3 separate regions of the Homo sapiens genome follow, and all the other regions are linked to region 2. Evidence: promoter capture Hi-C in human tissues and cell types (Jung and others, 2019). All regions are on one chromosome and are shown on one strand. Each heading gives the region's core, a stretch centred on a gene start or on the middle of the fragment in contact. The rest is flanking DNA. Distances are from core to core; before and after follow the strand shown.

Region 1 (4,140 bases), core at 889-3,388, 79 kb before region 2:
ATAAAGAAAAAAATGCTCTTGGATAACATACAGTTCACATTTTGTCATAACAGTTTTCTCTATACCACTGAAAGCTTGAAAAAAACAATATTTTAAAAGGACAGACACATAATAAACATTCATAACAGGAAATTCAATATATATACACATTATACATATGTCAATATGCTTATATAAAGAATAATCTTTAAAAAAAGAATAATCTTTACAAAATATAATGAAGTCAGTAGCTGTCTGAAAGTCCCTTAAAATTATACACAGAATTTTGCACGTAAGCGTAAATGTACATTTTTTTCTGAAGAAAGGATGCATTGATTTTGCCACATTCTCCAAGGACTCTAAAGAAAGTTAAGAACCATGTTTATAAGTGCCATTAAATATTCCTATGTCTGATCCTATTAGGTAATGACAAAGTACTTTATAGCTTGTGCATCAGAGTTGAAGAGAACAAAACATATGTCCTTAGTGATGTCCTGATACATGGAGGTTGGTCGCAAACATACAATCTTTTCCTAGACAATTATCACATGGGGAAAGATGGCAGCCAACTGCTATGTAAAATGCCAAAGGTGAAAAGATTGAGAAGAGCCCCATGCTCACAGCCACGGGCTGGAAGCGCCACCCTCTGGGTTGATAGGGAGAGGGATTTCCTGGCCTCTGTTTCCTGAGGGTCTGGGTTTTGGCTGCTGTCGGAGAAAAGCAGCCAACACCTGGTGCATTGACAAAAGGATTTCCCAACACACGCTGCCTGCTCATTTCCTCTTTAGAAAGAAGCTTAAATTGTCTATGTTTGTTTATGAACCCTGCTTACCTGGGATCCAACGAGGCAATTTCTTAAATATATGGAGGTCAAAAATACTGTGAATAATTGGAGCACTACCCTCTGAGGGTGGCAATAAAGATAAAACTCAAGCAAATCAGCAGAGGATTGAAAGAAAAACTGGTAACACAGAGGCAATGACGATGAGAAGGAATTTGGTTAAATACCTTCATAAGGCCGGGCGTGGTGGCTCACGCCTGTAATCCCAGCACTTTGGGAGGCCAAGGCAGGCGGATCACAAGGTCAGGAGATCGAGACCATCCTGGATAACACGGTGAAACCCCGTCTCTACTAAAAATACAAAAAAATAGCCAGGCGTGGTGGCAGGCGCCTGTAGTCCCAGCTACTCAGGAGGGTGAGGCAGGAGAATGGCGTGAACCCAGGAGGTGGAGCTCACAGTGAGCCGAGATTGCACCACTGCACTCCAGCCTGGGCGACAGAGTAAGACTCCATCTCAAAAAAAAAAAAAAAAAAAAAATACCTTCATAAGTCTCTTACTATCCACAGTTTTCCTTTGGGAAAGGATTTTTCTTCCCCCTACGTGAATGTTTGGTATTTTAAATCCTTTTGGAAAACAGCATCATATAGATATGATAGCAACACATAGCACAGAATACTAATTCAAATTTATAGCTGAAGGGATTCAAACTCAACTGTAGTATTTTATAGTTAAGTAGATGTTTGCCCAGGTTTCTTAGCAAATCAGCTTTCTTCACTGCTTATTCAATGCTCTTCCTTCCTAAAATAATAGATTCCCAACTCTCAGTTTTCCATATTTGAAAAAATTTCCCAAGAGAGACTATGTGTGAAAACAAGTACAACTACCTCACCCAGCAAGCACACTTTCTAAAAGTTAACCCTTAAAAATATGCATTCCCAGGCCAGGCACAGTGGCTCATGCCTGTAATCCCAGCACTTTGGGAGGCCGAGGTAGGCAGATCACCTGAGGTGGGGAGGTCGAGACCAGCCTGACCAACATGGAGAAACCCCGTCTCTACTAAAAATACAAACTTAGCGGGACATGGTGGCGCATGCCTGTAATCCTAGATACTCGGGAGGCTGAGGCAGGAGAATCACTTGGACCCGGGAGGCAGAGGTTGCAGTGAGCCAAGATCGTACCATTGCACTCCAGCCTGGGCAACAAGAGCGAAACTCCATCTCAAAACAAACAAACAAACATGCATTATCAGGCCAGGCACGGTGGCTCATGCCTATAATCCCAGCACTTTGGGAGGCCAAGGGGGGCAGATCACCTGGGGCCAGGAGTTCCAGACCAGCCTAGCTAACATGGTGAAACCCTGTCTCTACTAAAAATACAAAAATGAGCTACTAAGGAGGCTGAGGCAGAAGAATTGCTTGAACCTGGGAGGCAGAGGTTGCAGTGAGCCAAGATTGTGTCACTGCACTCCAACCTGGGCGATAGAGTGAGACTCTGCCTAAAAAAAAAAAAAAATATATATATATATACACATATATATGTGTATATACATGTATATACACATATATATGTGTATATATGTATATATGTATGTATATATATGTGTATATATATACATACATATATATATATATATATGCATTATCCCTTTCTGCCATCACGTGTCCATTGGAGACCTCAAATACTAGCTGCCCCAAGCATTTGAATTCAACCAAATGGAAGCCCACCAGAAACAATGGTAGAGCAGCCAAGGAATATGAGATTGAGAGACTTCTGTCAAATGCCTTTGCAGGGTTCTCTGGCACGCAGGCAGAGCAGGGGCTAATAACCGAGAAAAGCAGAGTGGCACTTGGTGCAGACACACAGTGCAATATAATTCAGCCTTCAAAAGAAGAGAAATGTTGACATGTGGTACAACATGGATAAACTTTGAGGACATTATGTCAGGTGAAATAAGCCAGACACAAAAGAACAGATACTGTATAAGTCTACTTACATGAGGTATGCAAAGTTGTCCAGTTCATAGATGAGACAGAAAGGAGAACAGTGGTTATCTGGGACCAGGGGGAAGGAGAGATGAGGAGTCAGTGTTTAATGGGTACAAAGTTTCAGTTTGGGAGATGGAAAAGTTCAGGAGATTGGTAATACACCAATGTGAATAGACTTAACACTGCCAAACACTTAGAAGTGACTCAGATGGGCCGGGCATGTGGATCACACCTGTAATCCCAGCACTTTGGGAGGCCAAGGCAGGTAGATCACTTGATGTCAGGAGTTCGAGATCGGCCTGGCCAACATGGTGAAAACCTGTCTCTATTAAAAACACAAAAATTAGCCGGGCCTGGTGGCGTGAGCTTGTAACCCCAGCTACTGGGGAGGCTGAGGCAGGAGAATTGCTTGAACCCAGGAGGCAGAGATTGCCATGAGCCAAGACTGCACCACTGCACTCTTGCCTGGGTAACAGAGTGATATTCTGTCTCAAAAAAAAAAAAGAAAGAAAGAAAGAAAGAAAAAGAAAAAGAAATGGCTAAGATGGTAAATTTTACATTGTGTGCTTTTTATCACAATTTTTACAAGGTTTTTAATTGCCAGCTCTAAGTTCTGCAAAGGCAGTGACAACATCTTAGACGTCTGTAGATTCCAGGAACCTTGCACAGCGCCAGAAACATGTGAGAGTTCACGTCCAGCTTGCGGAACACTGAGGATGAAAATGATGAAATGCATTAGTGCATAGCTGGGCAGATGGACAGAGCAGCCCTTCAAGGGAACTGATGTTTCTCTTCCCGAAAGTGTTCAGGGGGTGTGGCAGATGCTCTTGGTGATCTGCATCACATCCCCCGGCCCACCTCTGGTTCAGCCACAGCTGCGATGGCCCAGGTCATACATGCTGACAACATCCACCTCCCACAGCAAGCCAAGGCAGCAGGAAAAAGGAAGAAAAAGAGTGAAGCCTCACAGTAAAGAGGAGGTGTCTCACCGGTATTGGGCTACAGAGAAAAGCCAAAGCCTCTGTGCCACACTCTTGGGTTGACCGTGCCACGCTCTTGGGTTGACCGAGCCACAGCCAACGTCAAAACAAACAAGATAACATGGATTTTCATATTGGATTAAAAATCAAAACACAACCAACTATGGGGCCAAATGATTCATACCTGAATAATTTCTGTGTGAACAATGCTGGAAACCTTCACATAACAACCAGATTGTTTCCTGGCAAAGGTACAGAGATTTCGCAGAGGCCAAACAGGGTCCTGCCCTTCCAGCCGCAGAGCAGAGACCGGACCCAGACCGGGACCCTGGAGCTGGGGGTTTCACAGCCAGTCACAGTGCAGCCCTTTAATAGGCAGAGTTGCCCGATTTAGCAAATTACAATACAGAATGC
Region 2 (3,960 bases), core at 317-2,816:
GTTGCCCAGGTGGAATGCAGTGGCGTGATCTCAGCTCACTCTAACCTCCGCCTCCCCAGTTCAAGCAATTCTCATGCCTCAGCCTCCCAAGTAGCTGGGATTACAGGCGCATGCCACCACACCTGGCTAATTTTTGTATTTTTAGTAGAGACGGGGTTGCACTATGTTGGCCAGGCTGGTCTCAAACTCCTGACCTCAGGTCATCCACCCGCCTCAGTCTCCCAAAGTGCTGGGATTACAAGTGTGAGCCACCGCGCCCAGCTGCCATTGGGTCTTAATTCTCCAGAAACAGTATCTCAGTCAAGAATGCAAAGCTGTGGCAGGATTTTTCCATGAGGGGTCCACTGAGGCACTCACTGGCCAAGGTGGGCGCTCAACTAGTCCAACCTAGGCAAGGGAGGGGAGAATCTGTTTTCTCCCTTCCATTATTTCAGAAGTTATGTTTCTCCAGCAGACACACGGCTGTGCAATTTCGAAGACTGAGGGGAAACTAGGGAGGAAAATGCAGAAAACTCTCTGTTGCATGCCCTGTGAATTGGGCTTTAAATGTAGCAAGGAGCTCCAGGATCCCAGAAGTTGGCCTGGGGTGCTTGGTCCTGAGGATAAGACAACCTCCCTTGTATTGTAATTCTGCCCACAGCTGGAGCTTCCTATTTCAGTGTTGCATCCAAGAAGTTACATTTCCTGTTTGTTGCAAGAAAAATAGAATCTGACCAGGATGGAGGCTAGGCATGGGGGCTCACATCTGGAATCCCAGCAGTTTCGGAGGCTGAGGCAAGCAGATAGCTTGAGCCCAGGTGTTCAAGACCAGGATGAGCAACATGATGAAATCCCATCTCTACAAAAAATAGCCAGGCAGTGTAGTGCACACCTGTAGTCCAGCTACTCTGGAGGCTGAGGTGGGCAGATTGCTTGAGCCGGGGGAAGTTGAGGCTGCAATGAGCTTTGATCTCACCACTGCACTCCAATTCTGAGACTGGGGAGTATTGATTTGCCACTGACCTGAGCCCGGCTGATAGGGGCAGCAGGACAGACACTGTTACCTTAATCAAAGACATTCACGAAGCATTCTCACTGAAGATCTGCCCTAGTATCCTGCACAGCCACTTGCCTGGGTCTTTATAGGTAACAGGTAGACAGTCATCAAAGAGATAGGGGAAAACATGCACAATGAATTCTTTGCTCAGAAAAACCCTTCTGTGTCTTCTCCCACTTTTTCTAAATTTTTCCTGCTTTCATTTAGATCAAAGGATTTTGTTTCTTGGAATAGTTCTGCACTTGGTCCTTTAGAAAGGATGACAATTATCTGTAGGTCTCTCTGATTTTAAGATCAATAGAAATCAGCAAAAGCCAAAAAATAAAAAATAAAAATAAAATAAAAGCACACAAGCACATTCAAGCACATCCATCTGCCCCTGACTTGTCCTCACAGTAAGCAACTGCTTCTGACTTTGCTGTTTGAATAACCTCTGGGTGTTCGATCCACCCACACAGCTCAAGTTTGAGCTCCAGAACAAATATTTGTCCCAATTTTGAACAAAGTTAGAGAGTTTTTTCTTCTTTTTTCTTCTTTCTTAAAGCGAACTGTACTCCTCTGCTGTTCCTTTGAACTTGGTTCAGTAGGAAGAAGTGATATCCTCCCCAGACCATCTGCTTTGGGGAGCTTGGCAAAACTGTCCAGCAAAATGAAAAGACTCACGTGCTTTTTCATCTGCTTCTTTCTTTCTGAAGTATCAGGCTTCGAAATCCCCATAAATGGACTTTCTGAAGTAAGTACTTACAGATCACTCCTTGCTGTTGGCTTGTTCATGAGCTCAGTAAATCATCTATTGGAATCGCTATTCAATGGCCTTATTCTGTGTGTAATGGAAACTTAAGATAAAATTCATCTGAGTGCAAGTGTTTACTGTTATAATTACTGGAATGTATATTTACCTTTTAAAGCATTAACAGGTTTTGCATGAAAATTAAGTCAAGATCAATGGGCAGGCATCAGAGCGTAGCATTTATGGAGCAGAGCTGCTCACTCCTCACCTAAAAAATTGGGGGTAAGAATAGACCTAACCCAATGGTTTGCTTTGAGAATTAAATGACACAGTGTAAACTCTTCTAGCAGAGCGCCTGGACTAGTAAGTGCTTAATAATTACTAGCTGTTATGATGATGAAGAAATATTATCACTCTTTTACTAAGAGTATAAGAAAAGTCATTATCAAAGCACACTGTTTTTCATATCTAAGTGAACAGTGATATTTGTAATAAGAGCACTTTAAGTATTCCTATTAAAGCGGAAGATAGCAGGCAGGGTGGAAAAGTACAAGAATAATTCCCATGGAGTACAGGTCTCCACTTTTGTCCCTTAGCCATCTCCAATGTAAGGAAAGTCTTGGACTGAAAGTCTGTTTCTGAAAGTCATACAAGAGCTATTTTTATGCCAGAAAAGCGAAGCATGTTATGGGAACATCCCAGCAAATGCAAAGGCTTATAATACTTGCAGAGTGGATTACCTATAAAAATGCCAGAGAATATGACGGCATATTTACAAAGGGAAAATATCACTCTGTCTGCTTTGAAACTATCATATTTTCCAACACTTAAAAGCCACCAGAGTGTGTTAGAAATCTCAAATTGAAGCCAAGACATCCAAATGTGTTTGTGCTTTTTCAGTCATTTCTAACTGGCATTTCCTTTTAGAAAATACCTACATTTTTAACTTGGGGAGATGTATGGTTCATGTCTGTCCAGTCAGACACTGCAAATGCCTCCAGGGTCTACCCAGATACTTCCCCAGACACCCACCTAATCACTGGGTTGTTTTGATCTCTGTCTTACCACCTGCTGGCAAACTCAAAAATGAATTCCCATGTCCAACAAATGCGAAGGTGTTGTTACCCTCCATTTGGACACCTCTGAGACGTAACCAGCAAATAGAAATATACTAAAGAAATCATTTTATACAAAATTGTGATTGCCCAGAGGTAGAGGAAAGAATATAAAATAATGAATACCAACAGCTATCTCTTTGGCTCTAGATCTTTTGGAAATCATCATTCTCAGCAAAGTAACACAAGAAGGGAAAACCCAACACCGCATGTTCTCACTCATAAGTGGGAGTCGAACAACGAGAACACATGGACACAGGAAGGGGAACATCACACACTGGGGCCTGTCAGGGGGTGGGGGGCTAGGGGAGGGATAGCATTAGGAGAAATACCTGACGTAAATGATGAGTTAATGGGTGTAGCAAACCAACATGGCACATGTATACCTATGTAACAAATCTGCACGTTGTGCACATGTACCCCAGAACTTACAGTATAATTAAAAAAAAAAAAGTTAAAATCCTAATTTTTTTTAAGTTTGTAGACTATGAAGATCTTGTGGAACTGGCCCCAGGCAAATTTCAATTGGTGGCAGAGAACCGGAGATATCAGGTATAGTAAGGTTTACTCCCAAAAGGGGGAAAAAAAGTGAAAGAGATTATGGCAGAAGAAGACAAGTGTTAAGATGCCTTCTGCTAGATTTTCTTAAGAGTTTGTTTTTTAGCACAGAAGAGTCCAGACTTCTTACACCTTGGTGGAAGAGATCACCCAGGTGAAATAAAAAGAGAAACTCACACAACTGCTCAGCAGCCTTCACACCATAATGCTCAATTTAGTCCCTTAAAGAGTACACGACTCAGCACAGTGGCTCCCACTTATAATCACAGCATTTTCAGAGGCCAAGGAGGGAGGATCACTTGAGGCCAGGAGTTCCAGATCAGCCTGGGTAACATAGTGAGGCTCTACCTCTGCCACCCAGCTAATATATATATTAGCTGGCATGCACCTGTAATCCCAGCTATTTGAGAAGCTGAGATGGAGGATCACTTGAACCCAAGAGTTCGAGGCTGCAGTGAGCTATGATTGCACCAGCCTGGGCAACAGAGGGAGACGCTGTCCCCACTCCATTTAAAAAAAAA
Region 3 (4,538 bases), core at 1,424-3,923, 95 kb before region 2:
CAGCAAGGCTGCAATCTGAGCAGGTGATGCCGGAGCACCCCAAACTCTATACTGACAAGTGTCTCTTTGTATGACAGCCACAGAGTGCCCACATTCAGAGATACTACACATTTCAATAACATGACCTCATTTTATAACAGATGCGGGCAACGTTGCAGAGAAAAGGGAATGCTTATACACTGCCGGTAGGAATGTAAACTACTTCAGTCACTGTGGACAGCAGTCTGGCGATTTCTCAAAGAACTGGAAACGGAGCTCCTACTCAATCCAGCCAGCCCATTATTGGGTATATACCCAAAGGAATAGAAATCATTCTACCATAAAGACACACATATGCATATGTTTATGGCAGCACTGTTCTCAAGACCAAAGACATGGAATCAACCTAAATGACCATCAGTGGTGGACTCGATAAAGAAAACGTGGTACAAATATACCATGGAATACTATGCAGCTATAAAAAAGTATAAGATCATGTCCTTTGGAGCAACATGGATGGATCTGGGAGCCATTATCCTAAGCAAATTAACCCAGGAACTGAAAAACAAATACTGTATACCCTCACTTATAAGTGGGAGCTAAACATTGAGTACACATGGACACGAAGAAGTGAACAGACACTGGGGCCTCTTGAGGGTGAGGGTCAAAAAACTACTTCTCAGGTACTGTGCTTATTAGCTGGGTGATGAAATAATCTGTACACCAAACCCCCTCAACACACAATTTATCCATATAACAAACCTGTATATGTGCCTCTTAAACCTAAAATAAAAGTTTAAAGGAAAAATAAATAAAATAGGACCTCATTTTACCTCTAAGATATACTTCATCCGGGTAAATCTTAACTACCTCAACAACAGCAATAAATTTTTCAATGGGTGCCTCTAATTTATTTTAAATTATCTGTATTATCATTGTTGGAGAGCAATTTTTTTTCTTGAAACTAAAAATTCAAGCTTTCACTCATGGCCTAGGGAAAAAATATTTTGCCCTCTGTCCATCATTTATTACCTCATATTCTGAGTCAGAGACAAAAACCAGTTTTCCCCACTGTCTTCTGCTTCCTGCCTCAAGTCTCAAATCTCTGTTTTGCAATGTTTTCCTGAAACATGCATCTGCTGGTAGCAACGTCTTGACAAGGGCAGCCCAGTAGACGAGAATAAACACAATCAACTGGCATGTAACTCAAGGTCATTTTGATGAGTCCTTGCTCTAGACAGGTGTCAGCAAACTGTGGCTCAGGGGCCCTGCTGCTGCCTGCTTTTAGTAAATAAGCTTTTACTGGAACACAATCACACCCATTTCTTTGCATATGGCCTGTGGCTGTGCTCTTGTCACAAGGAGGACAGATCTTGCATCCAACAGCAGAGTTGAGTGGTTACAACAGAAACCATCTGGGGGCCGGGCGTGGTGGCTCATTCCTGTAATCCCAACACTTTGGAAGCCAAGGTGGGAGGATCGCTTGAGTCCAGGAGTTCAAAACTAGCATAGGTAACATAGTGAGACCCTGTCTCTACAGAAAGAAAGAGGAGGGGAGAGGGGAGAAACTTGGAAAAATGAATCTTCAGCCTGGCGCTGTGGTTCATGCCTGTAATCCCAGCACTCTGGGAGGCTGAGGCAGGTGGATCACCTGAGGTCAGGAGTTCGAGATCAGCCTGGCCAACATAGTGAAACCCCATCTCTACTAAAAATACAAAATTAGCCAGGTGTGGCGGCGCATGCCTGTAATCCCAGCCTACTCGGAAGGCTGAGGCAGGAGAATTGCTTGAACCCAGGAGGCGGAGGTTGCAGTGAGCTGAGATAGCGCCATTGCACTCCGGCCTGTGCAACAAGAGCGAAGCTCAGTCTCGAAAGAAGAAAAAAAAAATCTTGTCTGCAAAACTTAAGATGTTTATCATCTGCCCCTTTACAAACAAGTTTGATGACACTGGCTCCAGAAAGCCAAAAAGGGAAGCTAGACTCTTCTGATATTTCCTTCTGATATTTCCTGGGGCCTTGCTTTCAGGTGCTTAAACAAGGCCTAGACCTGAACAGGCAAAGCAGGTGGACCCGACGCTCTCTGTTGTCGATTTTTATTTGCATGATAGCCACATAGCGCTTGCCTTCTGAGACCCCTTCCCCCAGTCTTTCAGGCATGCACTCACTGGGCAAGCTTGCATCCTCCTGCTTTCTGAGCGCCTTCATTTGTTCAGGGATTTCTCTCCCCTAACCAGATGGCAAGCCCTCAGAGGCCCTCTGGGTCCCGCAGCTCATGCTGAGCTTTCCTCCAGGCTGCTCGGTGAATCTGACTGCCTTCTTTGATCTCCGTCGTTTAATTTTTGTTTGTTTGTTTGTGACAAGGTCTGGCTCTGTTGCCCAGGCTGGAGTGCAATGGCGCCATCATAGCTCACTGCAGTCTCGACCTCCTGGGCTCAAGCCATCCTCCTACCTCAGCCTCCTAAGTAGCTGGGACTACAGATGTGGGCCATCATGCCTGGCTAATTTTGTTTATCTTTTTGGTACAGATGAGGTCTCACTATGCTGCCCAGCCTCGTCTCGAACTCCTGGGCTCAAGCCATCCTCCCACCTCGGCCTCTCAAAGTGCTGGGATTACAGGCATGAGCCACCATACCTGGCCTGGATCCTCTCTTTTGAAATGTGGCAGACCCACATAGTCTGAAGAAGGCAGCTACAATATCACACTGTTGGACATCACTGGACTTGACAGTCACCCAGCTTGCCCGAGCCACTTTGCCTCAGTCTACATTTCTGCCATCTGCACGCACACTCGGATGTCACTTGCCCGATCCACATCATGAAAGGGAAAGAAGTTTGCCTCCCCATACACGCCCAAGGAGTGCTTAGTGTTAAATAATAAAACGTTGCTCAATAATTCTACGAATCAAAGCAGAACAGCTTCGTGAGTTTTTCACAATACTAGCCTGCTGGCTGGCACCTCTTTGAGTAGGTGACATCTGTGTGCACTCACCTGAGTGCACTGTCCTTCACGTTACTTGGTGACAAAAACAGAGCCTCAAAGCTTGAAAAGTGGTCTACAGACCACCACTGTGTTACGGTCCATATGTGACGTTACAGAGAAGTGGTTTAGGTAAGGCTGACCTGGGCTTGAATCCTAACTTTCCTACTTATAACTTTGTGTATTTCAGCATAATTACATCATTTTCCTGGTCTCCACCTTCCCATGCATAAAATAGGGAGAGCAATGTTTACTTCACTGGATGGCTGAAAGATTAAATGAAGAAATGTACGTAAAACCCTCACAGCACTTGATACGCACTGATCACTCAATGGTAACTACTGTGCCTCAGAAAAATGCAGGATACATTTATTGTTTGTGGGCTGGTAGTTTGGCAGCAAATGTCATTACCCACTGTCTGTGAAGAGTTGGGAATGCATATTGTAATGATCAAACACAAGATGTTCCCCAAGTCCATGGAGCTTACAAATTACTCACCTGTAAGGTTACACATGAAATATCCAAATAGCCCTTGGGAACCCAATTTTGGACAGCGAGGGAGAAACCAATGTCCTAGAGCATAAAGTAAGCCTGTGAGTGAACCAAAATCGACATGCAGATCCCAGTCCTCCTACTCGTTAATTCACGTTTGCCCTCATTTTAACTTGACTAATTCACGTTTGCCCTCATTTTAACTTGACAATTACAGATAAGAAACATGCTTGTTCTTTACCCTCTAAATTTGTCAACTAAATAAAATGGAGAAAGGAAGACAAGCTTCAAAGGCTACGTGGGAACCCAGAATTGGCACAGAGGGACACAGAGTGTGGGAACAGGTTTGAAGACCATTAAAGCATGGAAAACATCTGGTAAGTGATCCATTCGTCACTGCTTGGTTGCCAAAGAGGGTCCCTTAGCCAAGTTCTTTAATATGAATGTGAAAGTAGTAGATCTAATTCTATAGATCAGGGAAAGGAAAGACAAGAAAGTGGACACCATGGTCAAGGAAAAGCATATTCTTAATCCTCCCAAGGACTACATGTCTGTCTGCAAATGTCAATGCTTTAAGCATGCAACTAACAACAAAAAAAAGAAGCCTTCCCTGATTACATTTTTCTCCCCCCTCCCTTTCTTTTTTTTCTTTTTTCTTTTTTTTTTTTTTTTTTGGCTCTTCTCAGCTCCCATTCTCACCAAGAAGTTTTAGCTCAAACTGGGAGGTAGAAACCCTGCCTGACCCAACACCACAGCCATCTCTCAACAAACTCATCTGCAAAAGCACACGGGAGGGAAAACAGCAAAGCCACGTGCCAGCAAACCTCAGGCAGCTCTGTTGCTGTTCCCAAGCCAGGCAGGTCCTGGCTTCCAGGATCATGTTCCCACTGGGATTAGGACAAGAACCAGAAAATGCCAGAGGCACACAGCTTTGGGGGCTCCCCAGGTGCCAATATACCCCTTACCGAGAATATTTTTTTAAGGTTGAATGGTCTTTACAGCTTTTTCTAAATCAATAGTTCAAGTAATTATTAAATGCCAACTATGTGTCCTACATTGCAATAAATGCAGCAAGGTCTTTCAGGCCCGT

The links. Contacts are between HindIII fragments. The study calls those that stand out against the background at their distance.
Region 1: a contact is called between a fragment that was not itself captured here and the fragment with the promoter of ITIH2 in region 2, in 6 of the 25 tissues and cell types used here (H1 embryonic stem cells, heart left ventricle, liver and 3 more).
Region 3: a contact is called between a fragment that was not itself captured here and the fragment with the promoter of ITIH2 in region 2, in 3 of the 25 tissues and cell types used here (adrenal gland, heart left ventricle and spleen).

What each region holds. Positions count from the first base shown.
Region 1 is chr10:7,622,527-7,626,666 of GRCh38, forward strand. All of the region lies in intron 5 of ITIH5 (inter-alpha-trypsin inhibitor heavy chain 5), which reads right to left. Among named protein-coding and RNA genes, the nearest start is that of ITIH5, 42 kb to the right of the region's middle. The HindIII fragment of the contact is 8,428 bases long and covers 1-4,140 here.
Region 2 is chr10:7,701,750-7,705,709 of GRCh38, forward strand. ITIH2 (inter-alpha-trypsin inhibitor heavy chain 2) reads left to right here and starts at 1,567. Exons shown (of 21, transcript NM_002216.3): 1 at 1,567-1,769; 2 at 3,359-3,433. The coding sequence starts at 1,686. The HindIII fragment of the contact is 26,123 bases long and covers 1-3,960 here.
Region 3 is chr10:7,605,966-7,610,503 of GRCh38, forward strand. All of the region lies in intron 7 of ITIH5 (inter-alpha-trypsin inhibitor heavy chain 5), which reads right to left. Among named protein-coding and RNA genes, the nearest start is that of ITIH5, 59 kb to the right of the region's middle. The HindIII fragment of the contact is 3,117 bases long and covers 1,116-4,232 here.